Regions from separate parts of the Homo sapiens genome. Here region 1 is linked to region 2. The links are contacts of gene promoters, found by promoter capture Hi-C in blood cells and fetal thymus (Javierre and others, 2016). All regions are on one chromosome and are shown on one strand. The core of a region is centred on a gene start or on the middle of the fragment in contact, and the rest is flanking DNA. Distances in the headings are between cores, read along the strand shown. Region 1 overlaps LOC124904638 (a long non-coding RNA gene). Region 2 holds the start of MAN2B1 (mannosidase alpha class 2B member 1).

Region 1 (5,595 bases), core at 308-2,807, 1.1 Mb before region 2:
CCACCCACCTTGGCCTTCCAAAGTGCTGGGATTACAGGCGTGAGCCACCGCGCCCGGCCTGTTTTTGTTTTTTTTTTTTTTGAGACAGTTTTATTCTGGTTGCCCAGGCTGGAGTGCAGTGGCGCAATCTTGGCTCACGCAACCTCCGCCTCCCGGGTACAAGCGATTCTCCTGCCTCAGCCTCCCTAGTAGCTGTGATTACAGGCACGCACCACCACGCCCGGCTAATTTTGTATTTTTAGTAGAGACGGGGTTTCTCCATGTTGGCCAGGCTGGTCTCCAATGCCCGATCTCAGGTGATCTGCCCACCTCAGCCTCCCAAAGTTCTGCGATTACAGGCGTGAGTCACCATGCCTGGCCAGTCTCCTGTTTTTTTAAAAACTTATTATTTAGCCGGTGTGGTGTCTCACACCTGTAATCCTGGCACTTTGGGAGGCCGAGGTGAGCGGATCACTTGAGGTCAGGTGTTCCAGACCAGCCTGGGCAACATGGCAAAACCTTGTCTCTACTAAAAAGACAAAAATTAGCTGGAGGTGCTCTCTTGAACCCAGGAGGCAGAGGTTGCAGTGAACTGAGATCATGCCACTGCACTCCAACCCAGGAGGAGGAGGTTGCACTGAGCCAATATCATGCCACTACATTCCAGCCTGGGCGACAGAGCAAGACTCTGTCCCCCCCAAAAAAAAAACAGAAAAAAAAAAAAAGAAAGAAATCTGAAGCAATTATGACCAAATGTTAACATCTGTTTCTTCACGTGGTGGGTACAGGCGTGTTTTGGAAGCTTCTATGCTTCCTGTATTTTGAGATCACACAAAATTATGTTTATTATCTTATTGTGCTACATGATCTTTGTAGAAAAGTTGGTAAATTCTGGAATGCACGAAGAAAAAGATTATAATAGCCAGTAATACCCCTGCCCAGAGAGACAGTATCCATTAATTTTTCTCTGCCTATGTTTGTCTTCGGAAAAATGGGATACTATTGGCACTATTTTATAACTTTTTAATTTGTATTAACACTTTCTATATTTTTTAAATTGAAAAAGCTGGCCAAGCATGGTGGCTCAGGCCTGTAAACCCAGCCAATGTGGGAGGATCGCTTGAGCCCGGGAGTTCAGGAACAGCCTGGGCATCGTGGCGAGACCACATTGCTACAAAAAAAAAAAAAAAAAAAAAAAAAATTAGCCAGGCATGGTGGTGCACACCTGTGGTTCCATCTACTCAGGAAGCTGAGGTGGAGGATCGCTTGAGCCTGGGAGTTTGAGGCTGCAATAAGCTACGAATGCACCACTGACCTTCAGCCTGGGCAACACAGCTAGACTCTTGTCTCAGAGAGAGAGAGAGAGAGAGAGAGAGAGCACAATGAAAAAAATAAACCTGATCTTGCACAGAGCATGTAATAAAACCTGTGCGTTCTTGGCTATCTCTCTCTGGTCTCCTCCAGGGTGCTGAATAAGCTCTTCTCTCTCCATTCACCCAGGAGAACTCTCTTCTGCTGATTTTCTGTGGAGCTAGATCAGGCTGTGACTCAGAATCTCCCTCCACCTCCACCCTTTCCTATTTTCCCAACACCAGTGTCAATCTCAGATGTCAACAACCCCACGAGTGAGTTCCTCCTGTTGCCAATACATCCAGGTCCTGTTCTCCGCTGCTGTCTCTACCCAATCCCTTCCCTTCCTTCCTCCTGCCAATCCTGCTTTCCCTGTTTCTTGCTCCTCTGACCTCCTCCGCATTGCTTGACTGTCTCAGATACACTCTGGCCTCAGGGTCTTGGCACTTTCTGTTCTCCCTGCCTGGAAGGGTCTTCCTTAGTCAGATACTGAGGTCACCCATTGTGTTCAAGTTCCTTTAATTTATCTGAAATGAGTCTGGGCGTGGTGGCTCACGCCTGTAATCCCAGCACTTTGGGAAGCCAAGCCGGGTGGATCACTTGAGGCCAGGAGTTCGAGACCAGCCTGGCCAACATGGTGAAACCCCATCTCTACTAAAAATACAGAAATTAGCTGGGCGTGGTGGCACAAACCTGTGGTCCCAGCTACTCAGGAGGTCGAGGCAGGAGAATTGCTTGAACCTGGGAGGCGGAGGTTGCAGTGAGCCAAGATCGTGCCACTGTACTCTAGCCTGGGTGACAGAGTGAGACTCTGTCTCAAAAAAAAAAAAAAAAAAAGAAAAAGATAATTTATCTGAAATTATCTGAAATGCACCACCCTGCCCCCATCATTGACTCTCCTGTTGCTGTAGTTTTCTCTGCAGCACTTACCAGTGCTTGAGAAAACCACCCACTCATTTATCTTGCTTTCAGTTTCTCTTGCTTTCAGTCTGTCTTCAGTTAATGAAAGCTTTTTTTTTCTTTCTTTTTTCTTTTTCTAAAACAGAGTCACCCAGGCTGGAGACCAGTGATGCGATCACGGCTCACTGCAGACTCGACCTTCTGGGCTCAGGGGATCCTCCCACACCCCTTGGCCTCCTGGGGATTGAGACTACAGGCACACACCACCACACCCAGCTAATTTTTGTATTTTTTGTAGAGAGAGGGATTTGTCACCTTGTCCAGGCTGCTCTTGAACTCCTGAGTTCAAGCAATCCTCCCAACTCAGCCCCTCAAAGTGCTGGGATTACAGGTGTGAACCACTGCCCCTGGCCTGTTTATTTAAAAAATTAACATTCATTCTCAGTTTATTGGCTAAGTTTAGAAGTAGTATCAGAATGTTTAAGAGAACTTACTGTTCTCCTTTTATTTGTATGTTTGCATTGTAGATTTTTAATAACTGATAAGGACTTCTCAAGGTGTTTGCTTGGTGGAGACATTTAAAAAGATTAAAGAATAGGCCAGGTGCAGTGGCTCATGCCTGTAATCCCAGCACTTTGGGAGGCCGAGGCGGGTGGATCAAGAGGTCAGGAGATCGAGACCATCCTGGCTAACATGGTGAAACCCCATCTCTACTATAAATACAAAAAATTACCTGGGTGTGGTGGCACGTGCCTGTAGTCCCAGCTACTCAGGAGGCTGAGGCAGGAGAATCGCTTGAACCCGGGAGGCAGAGGTTGCAGTGAGCTGAGATCGCACCATTGCACTCTAGCCTGGGTGGTAGAGCAAGACTCTGTCTCAAAAAATAATAATAATAAATTAAAAGATTAAAGAATAAGCTGGCACAGTGGCTCACACCTGTCATCCCAACACTTTTTGTAGAGACCTCATCTCTTAAAAATAAAATTAGCTGGGCGTGGTTGTGTGCACCTGTAGCCCAGCTACTCAGGAGGCTGAGGTGGGAGCATTGCTCAGGAGGTCGAGGCTGCAGTGAGCCATGATTGCACCACTGCACTCCAGTCTGGGTGACAGAGCTGATACACTGTCTCTAAAAAATAATAATAATTGACCGGGCGCAGTGGCTCACGCCTGTAATCCCATCACTTTGGGAGGCCGAGGCGGGCGGATCACGAGGTCAGGAGATCGAGAGCAACATGGCTAACACGGTGAAACCCCGTCTCTACTAAAAATACAAAAAAATTAGCTGGGCGTGGTGGTGGGCGCCTGTAGTCCCAGCTACTCGGGAGGCTGAGGCAGGAGAATGGCATGAACCTGGGAGGTGGAGCTTGCAGTGAGCCAAGATCGCGCCACTGCACTCCATCCGGCTTGGGTGACAGAGCGAGACTCCATCTCAAAAAAAAAATTAATAATAATAATTATTATTATAGTAGTAAAAGAGTATAGAATAAAATGCATCACACTTATAAAATGTAAAATGTTAATTTCAATCCACTAAACTTATAAACGGACCCAAATATGCATCCAATGACCTCTTAAAGTGATATTTCTTTTTCTTTTTGTTGAGATGGAGTCTCACTCACTCTGTCACCCAAGCTGGAGCGCAGTGGTGTGATCTTCAGCTCGTCCCAACCTCCGTCTCCCAGGTTCAAGCGATTCTCCTGACCTCAAGTGATCCGTCTGCCTTGGCATCCCAAAGTGCTGGGATTACAGGCCTGAGGCCAGGCCCTGAATTAATTTTTTGATGTTTCACTTTGCCAGGTGTATAAGTAACATGTTAGTTGTGATTGTAACTAAATAAAGGCTTAAGGGAAACCGTGTTTCTAAATTTCTAAATTGACTACACATTTACAAAGGAACCCACAAAGATGGATTTTTGGGCCGGGCGCAGTGGCTCACGCCTGTAATCCCAGCACTTTGGGAGGCTGAGGCAGACAGATTGCCTGAGTTCAGGAGTTCAAGATCAGCCTAGGCAACAAGGTGAAACCCTTTCTCTACTAAAATACAAAAAAATTAGCTGGGCATGGCAGCGAGCACCTGTAATCCCAGCTACTTGGGAGGCTGAGGCCGGAGAATTGCTTGAACCAGGGAGGCAGAGGTTGCAGTGAGTCGAGATCACACCACCGCACTCCAGCCTGGGCAACACAGTGAGACTCGATCTTAAAAAAAAAAAAAAAAGATGGACTTTTTCGGGGCCCCAAGGCTTCAAAATTCAAAATGCTGTCATGAGTTAGTTTGATTTGAGGAACCAAAAATTGGCTTTTGTGGCTGGAGCAGAGTGAGCAAGGGGGAAGTGAATCCGGAAGGTTGAGTCTGCAAGGTCAAGGGCAAGGAACAGAGAAGGGTGTGGGTGGGGCAGGTTGCGTGTGCTCTTGGGGGCTGCAGGGAAGGGGGCTTTTATCTGGGTAAGGTGGGAGCCACAGAGGGTTCTGATCAGAGGGACAGATCTGACTTAGATTTTGCATGATGTCCCCCAGCTGTGGGCTGCGGGGCATGGGCTGCTGAATAGGTGGTTTAGGTGGGCAAAGATGGGTCATGGTGCCCCCTACCCTTTAAAAATTAAAAGACAGGGCCAGGAGCAGTGGCTCACGCCTGTAATCCCAGCACTTTGGGAGGCTGAGGTGGGCGGATCACCTGAGGTCAGGTGTTTGAGACCAGCCTGACCAACAAGGTGAAACCCCATCTCTACTAAAAATACAAAAAAAATTAGCTGGGCGTGGTGGCAGCCACCTGTAATCCCAGCTACTCGGGAGGCTGAGGCAGGAGAATCGCTTGAACCCGGGAAGCAGAGGTTGCAGTGAGCCAAGATCGTGCCACTGCACTCCAGCCTGGGCGACAAGAGCAAGACTGTCTCAAATAATAATAATAGGCCGGGTGTGGTGGCTCACACCTGTAATCCCAGCACTTTGGGAGGTTGAGGTGGGTGGATCACTGGAGCCCAGGAGTTTGAGACAAGCCTGGGTGACACAGTGAGACCCCATCTAAATTATTATTATTATTATTATTTGAGACAGAGTCTTGCTCCATCACCCAGGCTGGAGTGCAGTGGCGCGATCTTGGCTCACTGCAAGCTCCGCCTCCCGGGTTCACGCCATTCTCCTGCCTCAGCCTCCCAAGTAGCTGGGACTACAGGTGCCCGCCACCACGCCCAGCTAATTTTTTGTATTTTTTAGTAGAGACGGGGTTTCACCATGTTAGTAAGGATGGTCTGGATCTCCTGACCTTGTGATCCGCCTGCCTTGGCCTCCCAAGGTGCTGGGATTACAGGCGTGAGCCACCATGCCCAGCCTGAATTTTTTTTCTTAAAGATTAAAAAGGCAGAGCCTCTCT
Region 2 (5,406 bases), core at 2,832-5,331:
AAATAGACTAGGCACAGTGGCCCACACCTGTAATCCCAGCACTTTGGGAGGTTGAGGCGGGCAGATCACCTGAGGTCAAGACCAGCCTGGTCAACATGACGAAACCCTGTCTACTAAAAATACAAAAATTAGCTGGGTGTGGTGGCAGGTGCCTCTAATCCCAGCTTCTTAGGAGGCTGAGGCAGGAGAATCGCTTGAACCCGGGAGGCGGAGGTTGCAGTGAGCTGAGATCATGCCACTGCACTCCAGCCTGGGTGACAGAGCAAGACTCTGTCTCAAAAAAAAAAAAATAATAATAAATAAATAAAAATGTTAAAAATAGAGGCCAGGTGCGGTGGCTCATGCCTGTAATCCCGGCACTTTGGGAGGCCGAGGCAAGCAGATCACTTGAGCTCAGGAGTTTGAGACCAGCCTGGACAACATGATGAGACCCCAGTGCAAAAATACAAAAATTAGCTGGATGTGCTTGTTTGAACCCAGGAGGCAGAGGTTGCAGTGAGCCGAGATCGCACCACTGCACTCCAGCCTGGGTGACAGAGTAAGACTGTCTCAAAAAAATTAAAAATAAGGAGAACGTGTTAGGGGATGCCTGTACCATGGAAAGAGCTCATTGTATTGTATATACCGGACTCGAAGGTTCTGGACACCAGGGTTACCTGGGCAGTGGCCACATTTAGGAAGTAATCGACCAGCTCCTTGGCGTTGTACTCGGGGCTGCGAGGGTCCTCCACCAGCGGCTGATCGACACACAGCACATCCCAGCACAGATTCCTTGGCGGGTTGTAACCATTGGGAAGCACACCTGCAGGTCACACCAAGTTCAAGGGGTGGCCCATCACCCAGACCTTCCCTGGTTTCAAAGCCGGCCATGTCCCACCCAGGATGGGCTTCAGAATTTGTGTCCCAATGCAAAAGGAAATGCAGGGCCTTTGTTCCCAGACTATAGGAATTCCAGGACAGTGACAACAGAGCAGATATCAAGCCCAGGGCCCTTCTGAGTGTGTGGCACCATGGCTGGCCCTGCCCTCACCAAGCCCCCTACCAGTGAAGAGGTCCGCGGTCGGGGGCTTCAGGCTGGTGCTGGCCCGCCACACCTGCTCCATCTCCAGCTTCTGCATCCGTACCCACTTATCTTGATAATCAAGGCGCCCAAAGAAGAAGCCGTCGAAGCCCATCTGGGGATGAGGGAGGAAAAGGCAGTGTGAATTAGTGCCCAGCCCTCTCACCACCAAACTCCCCTCTGCTTGGGAGGGGCAGGTCAGAGCACAGGTTAAAAAGCAGTGCTAGGTCGATGTGGTGGCTCTTGCCTATGATCCCAGCCTTCTGGGAGGCCAAAACAGGAGGATCACTTAAACCCAGGAGTTTTTGAGACCAGCCTGCACAACACGGGCAGACTGTCTACAAAAAATTTAAAAATTAGCCAGGCGTAGTGGTGCGCTCTTGTAGTCTCATCTACTAGGGGGGCTGAGACAGGAGAATCGCTTGAATCCGGGAGATTGAGGCTATAGTGAGTTAGGATTGCACCACTGCACTCCAGCCTGGATGACAGCAAGACCCTGTCTCAAAAAACAAAAACAAAAACACGTAGGGCTGAAACAGAGAGGCCTCCAGCTTATTTCCAAGCTTGGGGAAGTTTCAGAACTCACCACCTTGGGCTAGCAGGGAGAGGGCGGGTCCAACATCAGAACCCAGGTTCACCTCCCCAGCACTGTCAAAGCGCAGAGCAGGCCTGACTCCAGGAATGAGGTTCCCCCTTCCACAGCCTGAGGATGGATGGGGTCTGAGCACAGGTAATGAACCTGTTTTTAAGGCAGCCTAGGCATCCACTTGCCACCCGGTTTAGGGAGGAGCCAGGACCCGAGCTAGTGGGTGGGGCCAGAACACCAAGAGGGGCCTATTAGGGGAGAGGGCGGAGCCAGCCGGAGCTGGGTCAGCCTGGGCTGGGCATAGCCGGCTGAGGCCAGAGCTCAAAAGCCACTGGCTTTACGGCTCACTCAAGGGGCAGGGCTTCAACAGGCCTAGGCCTGGGCCTGGTCCTTGTGAGATTGCAGGGAGAGGGCGGGGTTTGACTGGGCGAGGGAGGAGCCAGAGTGAGTGAAGAAGTGGGCCCAAGAGAGGTCCCGGGTCGCACCTGCGCAAACAGCGAGGCCTGCTCCCGAGAGTGGCCGAAGGGGTCAATGTGCCAGGCCACACGGGGTCGCCCATCATTGCCAAATGTGTCCTCCAGAAAGCGCAGCCCAAGTGTCATCTGGTCCACGATGGCACCGTAGTGGGTGGCTGCCTCATCGTTCATCACCCAGCCACCATTGGCGAACTCCAGGCGCCCTGTGCCAGGACAGGCAAGGTCAGGGTCAGCGGTCAGAGCCAGGAGTGGGAGTAGGGTGGGTGATACTGGGAATGTGAAAGCCTGCCTGTGTACACATTTCTGGCGGAAGGACAAGAGGGGTCGCTCCCAGGCCATAGTTCCCAGATATGGGAAAGAGGCCCCCTGCATGGCAGGCTTCCCAGAGGATGCACAGCAGGTGGGGCTTTGTGGGATGTATAGGAGGTCTCCAAATGGAGAGTCCAGGCAGGCGGAGCGACACGCATGTTATACAGCTTGCACGTGGCATGACAAATCTCAGAAACCAGAGATGCAGAAGCAGAAGCTGGGCTGGGCTTCCTCTTTTCACTTCCTTGGGGTAGGCTCACCCTGGCGCACAAGGTCTCGCACGACTTCCTGTGTGGCATTTGTCTGCTGGTGCCACCAACGGGAGAAGAAGGCAATCTCCACGTAAATGAAGCGACGGGTGGGATCTGCCAGCAAGGCAGAGATGACCGAGTCCAGGATGTACTGCACACCGGCGTGCTGGATGTCATTCTTGACTGTGGATAACAGGGATAAGGCTCTCAGGGAACAGCAGAGCCAAGGGGGTTATTCCTAGACAGAGGAGCCCAAACCCTGGATATTAGGGTAGCACTGGCCCCACCCTAATGTCCAGGACCCAGAGGGATTACAGGGACCATGGGGATCCCAGGGACCAGTCCCCATCCTCTACTCACTTCCATAAAAGTACTGGTCCACGGTTTTGAGCCAGCCCACGTCATCATGTGTGTGAGGCAGCAGGTGCACGTTCAGCATGTTCGGCTGCACTGTGGGGCATGTCTGCACAGGGACCCCAAACACACATACCTTGTCAATAACCCCCGAGGTCGGGGGCTGCAGAGTAAGTCTTGATCTAGAGGTGAGTGACTCAGAGAGGCCTGATCTCGCCTATGTGCAGAGGAGGCCAGGCCCTCCCAGGCAGGACACACACATACATAGTTGTGCTCATAGATACAACTCCACTTTGCACAACCCCACAGGGCAGCTCTCATTCACACTCCGGGAAAATAATAATAGAAGTAGCTGATGTTTGTTCAGCATTTGCCGACAGCAGACGGCCACCGTGGGAGGTGGGGTGATGTTATCCCCAGTTTCCAGATGAAGGCACTGAGGCTTAGAGAGGATAGGTGACTTGCCCAACGTCACACACTCAGGAAGTGTAAGAGCTAGGCTGGAATTTCAGGCAGACTCCAGAGTCCCAGCTCTCAGCCAGCACCTCCCCCCACACATACACTGCTCACCCCCTGCCACCTCCTGCCCCTCCAATCCCACAGTTAAGTGCAGACAAAGTCTAGGCAAGCATCCCGGAGACACGGAGGCAGGTACAATCAGACACAGTCCTATACTCAGATGCGCACAGCCAGACCTCGCAATGACACAAAGCACGCACTCAGACCACACTGTCATATCATCAGCCATTCACTAGACACCCACAGGACAGACCCACCCACACCTCTAGACTGTATTCTGGGTTTCACTCTGCCTCCTGTACGTTTCAGCTCGGAGGCCCCACTCACCTCGTATCCCCCGGCCCGAGCACCGGCAGCCGCCAGCAACAAAAGGAAAAAGCAGAGAGGCGGGAGCGGTGGCCGCAGGGCGCGGGACATGGTCCAGGGGCCTGCTGAGTCCAGGCAGCCGCGAGCGCAGACCCCCGAAGCCCGCGCGTAGGCGCCCATGGCTCAGCAGCTTCCTCCTGGGGTTCCCCGGCCCTGGAAAGGCCGGGCAAACGCCCCGCCCCCAGACCCGGCCGGGCCAATCGGGGTGGGGGGCGGGGCCAGGGCGCGGTCTGGAGGCTCACGGGAGAGAGGCTGTAGCCCTGGGCAATCCCGGGGGTCGTTACAGGAAGGTAGGAAAATGCCACCCTCAGGGCACTGGTTGGGCTAAAGGTGACACTGGCGTCTCACGGGCTATGAAGACGGAATGCCTCTTAATGCCGGAATTCCAAGACGGAATGCCTCTTAATGCCGGTAGGAGCAGAAGTGCTTTTCCTAAGGGGGCCGGGTTTTCCTAGCCGGTGTAGTGTGTCCATGGGAATCCAGGGTGTCCGTCCCATGGACCTTCAGCGCTAGGGTCCTGGAAGGACCTAGCTTGCCTAAGAGGAGGATCTGATGAAGAGTCCTATACTGTGGGGATTGGGACGTTGGGTAAATACCCCTGGAGTACCAGGGATGGGATCCAGCCTGGTTGAGAAGGATCCCTGGGTGTTCCGGAGAGAAAAGAGGGTCTGACAAGTGGGGAAGGACCCCGAGTCTTTCATGCCTTTCCCAATTCCTACCAGTTCATTCTCTGATAAGAAAACAAAGCCCAGGGCAGGCGCAGTGGCTCAAGCCTGCAATCCCAGCACTTTGGGAGGGCCAGGCTGGTGAATCACTTGGGCCTGGGAGTTTGAGACCAGCCTGGGCAACATGGGTTGTTTTGTAGAGACGGGTTTGAAAACACAAAATTTGTAATTTTACACAAAATGTAAAAATACAAAAATTAGCTGGGCATGGTGGCACATGCCTGTAATCCCAGCTACTTGGGAGACTGAGGCAGGAGAATCACTTGAACCTGGGAGGCGGAGGTTGCAGTGAGCCGAGATCAAGATCATGCCATTGCCCTCCAGCCTGGGCAACAAGAGCAAAACTCTGTCTCAAAAAAAACAAGAATTAACTGGGCATGGTAGCACGCATTTGTGGTCCCAGTTACGTGGCAGGCTGAGGTGGGAGGATTGCTTGAGCCCAGGAGTTTGAGGCTGCAGTGAACATAGATTGTGCCACTGCACTCAGCCTGCATGACAGATCAAGACCATTTTCTTTCTTAAAAAGGAAAAAAAAAAAAGGAAACCAAAGCCTAGATTATCTAGGTCAGCAGGGCCATCTGGTGAGTTGCCAGAGGGCAGAAGTCACTGTCTTGTCCCTAGCACCTGACTTAAGACACAAGGTTTATGAAGTAAGCAAATGAACAGCCAGAAGCCTCCAGACTGGGGCCCCACACCAGGCCTATGGGGCTAGAGCCCTTCCCGCCAGGTAGGAGGAACACCCCACTGAACAGAAGAGGCT

The links. The method cuts DNA at HindIII sites, captures the fragments that hold promoters and counts their contacts. A CHiCAGO score of 5 or more calls a contact.
Region 1: a fragment that was not itself captured here is called in contact with the fragment with the promoter of MAN2B1 in region 2 in 1 of 17 cell types (M0 macrophages); the score reaches 5.0 in M0 macrophages.

Annotation. Positions count from the first base shown.
Region 1 is chr19:11,579,585-11,585,179 of GRCh38, forward strand. It overlaps LOC124904638 (a long non-coding RNA gene), which reads left to right. Exons shown (of 2, transcript XR_007067140.1): 2 at 3,833-4,080. Among named protein-coding and RNA genes, the nearest start is that of ACP5, 4.7 kb to the left of the region's middle. RefSeq lists enhancers at 2,200-2,399, 4,301-4,440, 4,451-4,510 and a silencer at 2,535-2,700. The HindIII fragment of the contact is 1,557 bases long and covers 780-2,336 here.
Region 2 is chr19:12,662,661-12,668,066 of GRCh38, forward strand. MAN2B1 (mannosidase alpha class 2B member 1) reads right to left here and starts at 4,082. Exons shown (of 24, transcript NM_000528.4): 1 at 3,883-4,082; 2 at 3,043-3,145; 3 at 2,692-2,865; 4 at 2,132-2,325; 5 at 1,043-1,175; 6 at 657-802. The coding sequence starts at 4,041. WDR83 (WD repeat domain 83) reads left to right here and starts at 4,147. Exons shown (of 11, transcript NM_001099737.3): 1 at 4,147-4,332. RefSeq lists enhancers at 1,752-2,700, 2,701-3,648, 3,305-3,354, 3,415-3,544, 3,565-3,694 and 2 more and a silencer at 3,945-4,224. The HindIII fragment of the contact is 17,009 bases long and covers 1,622-5,406 here.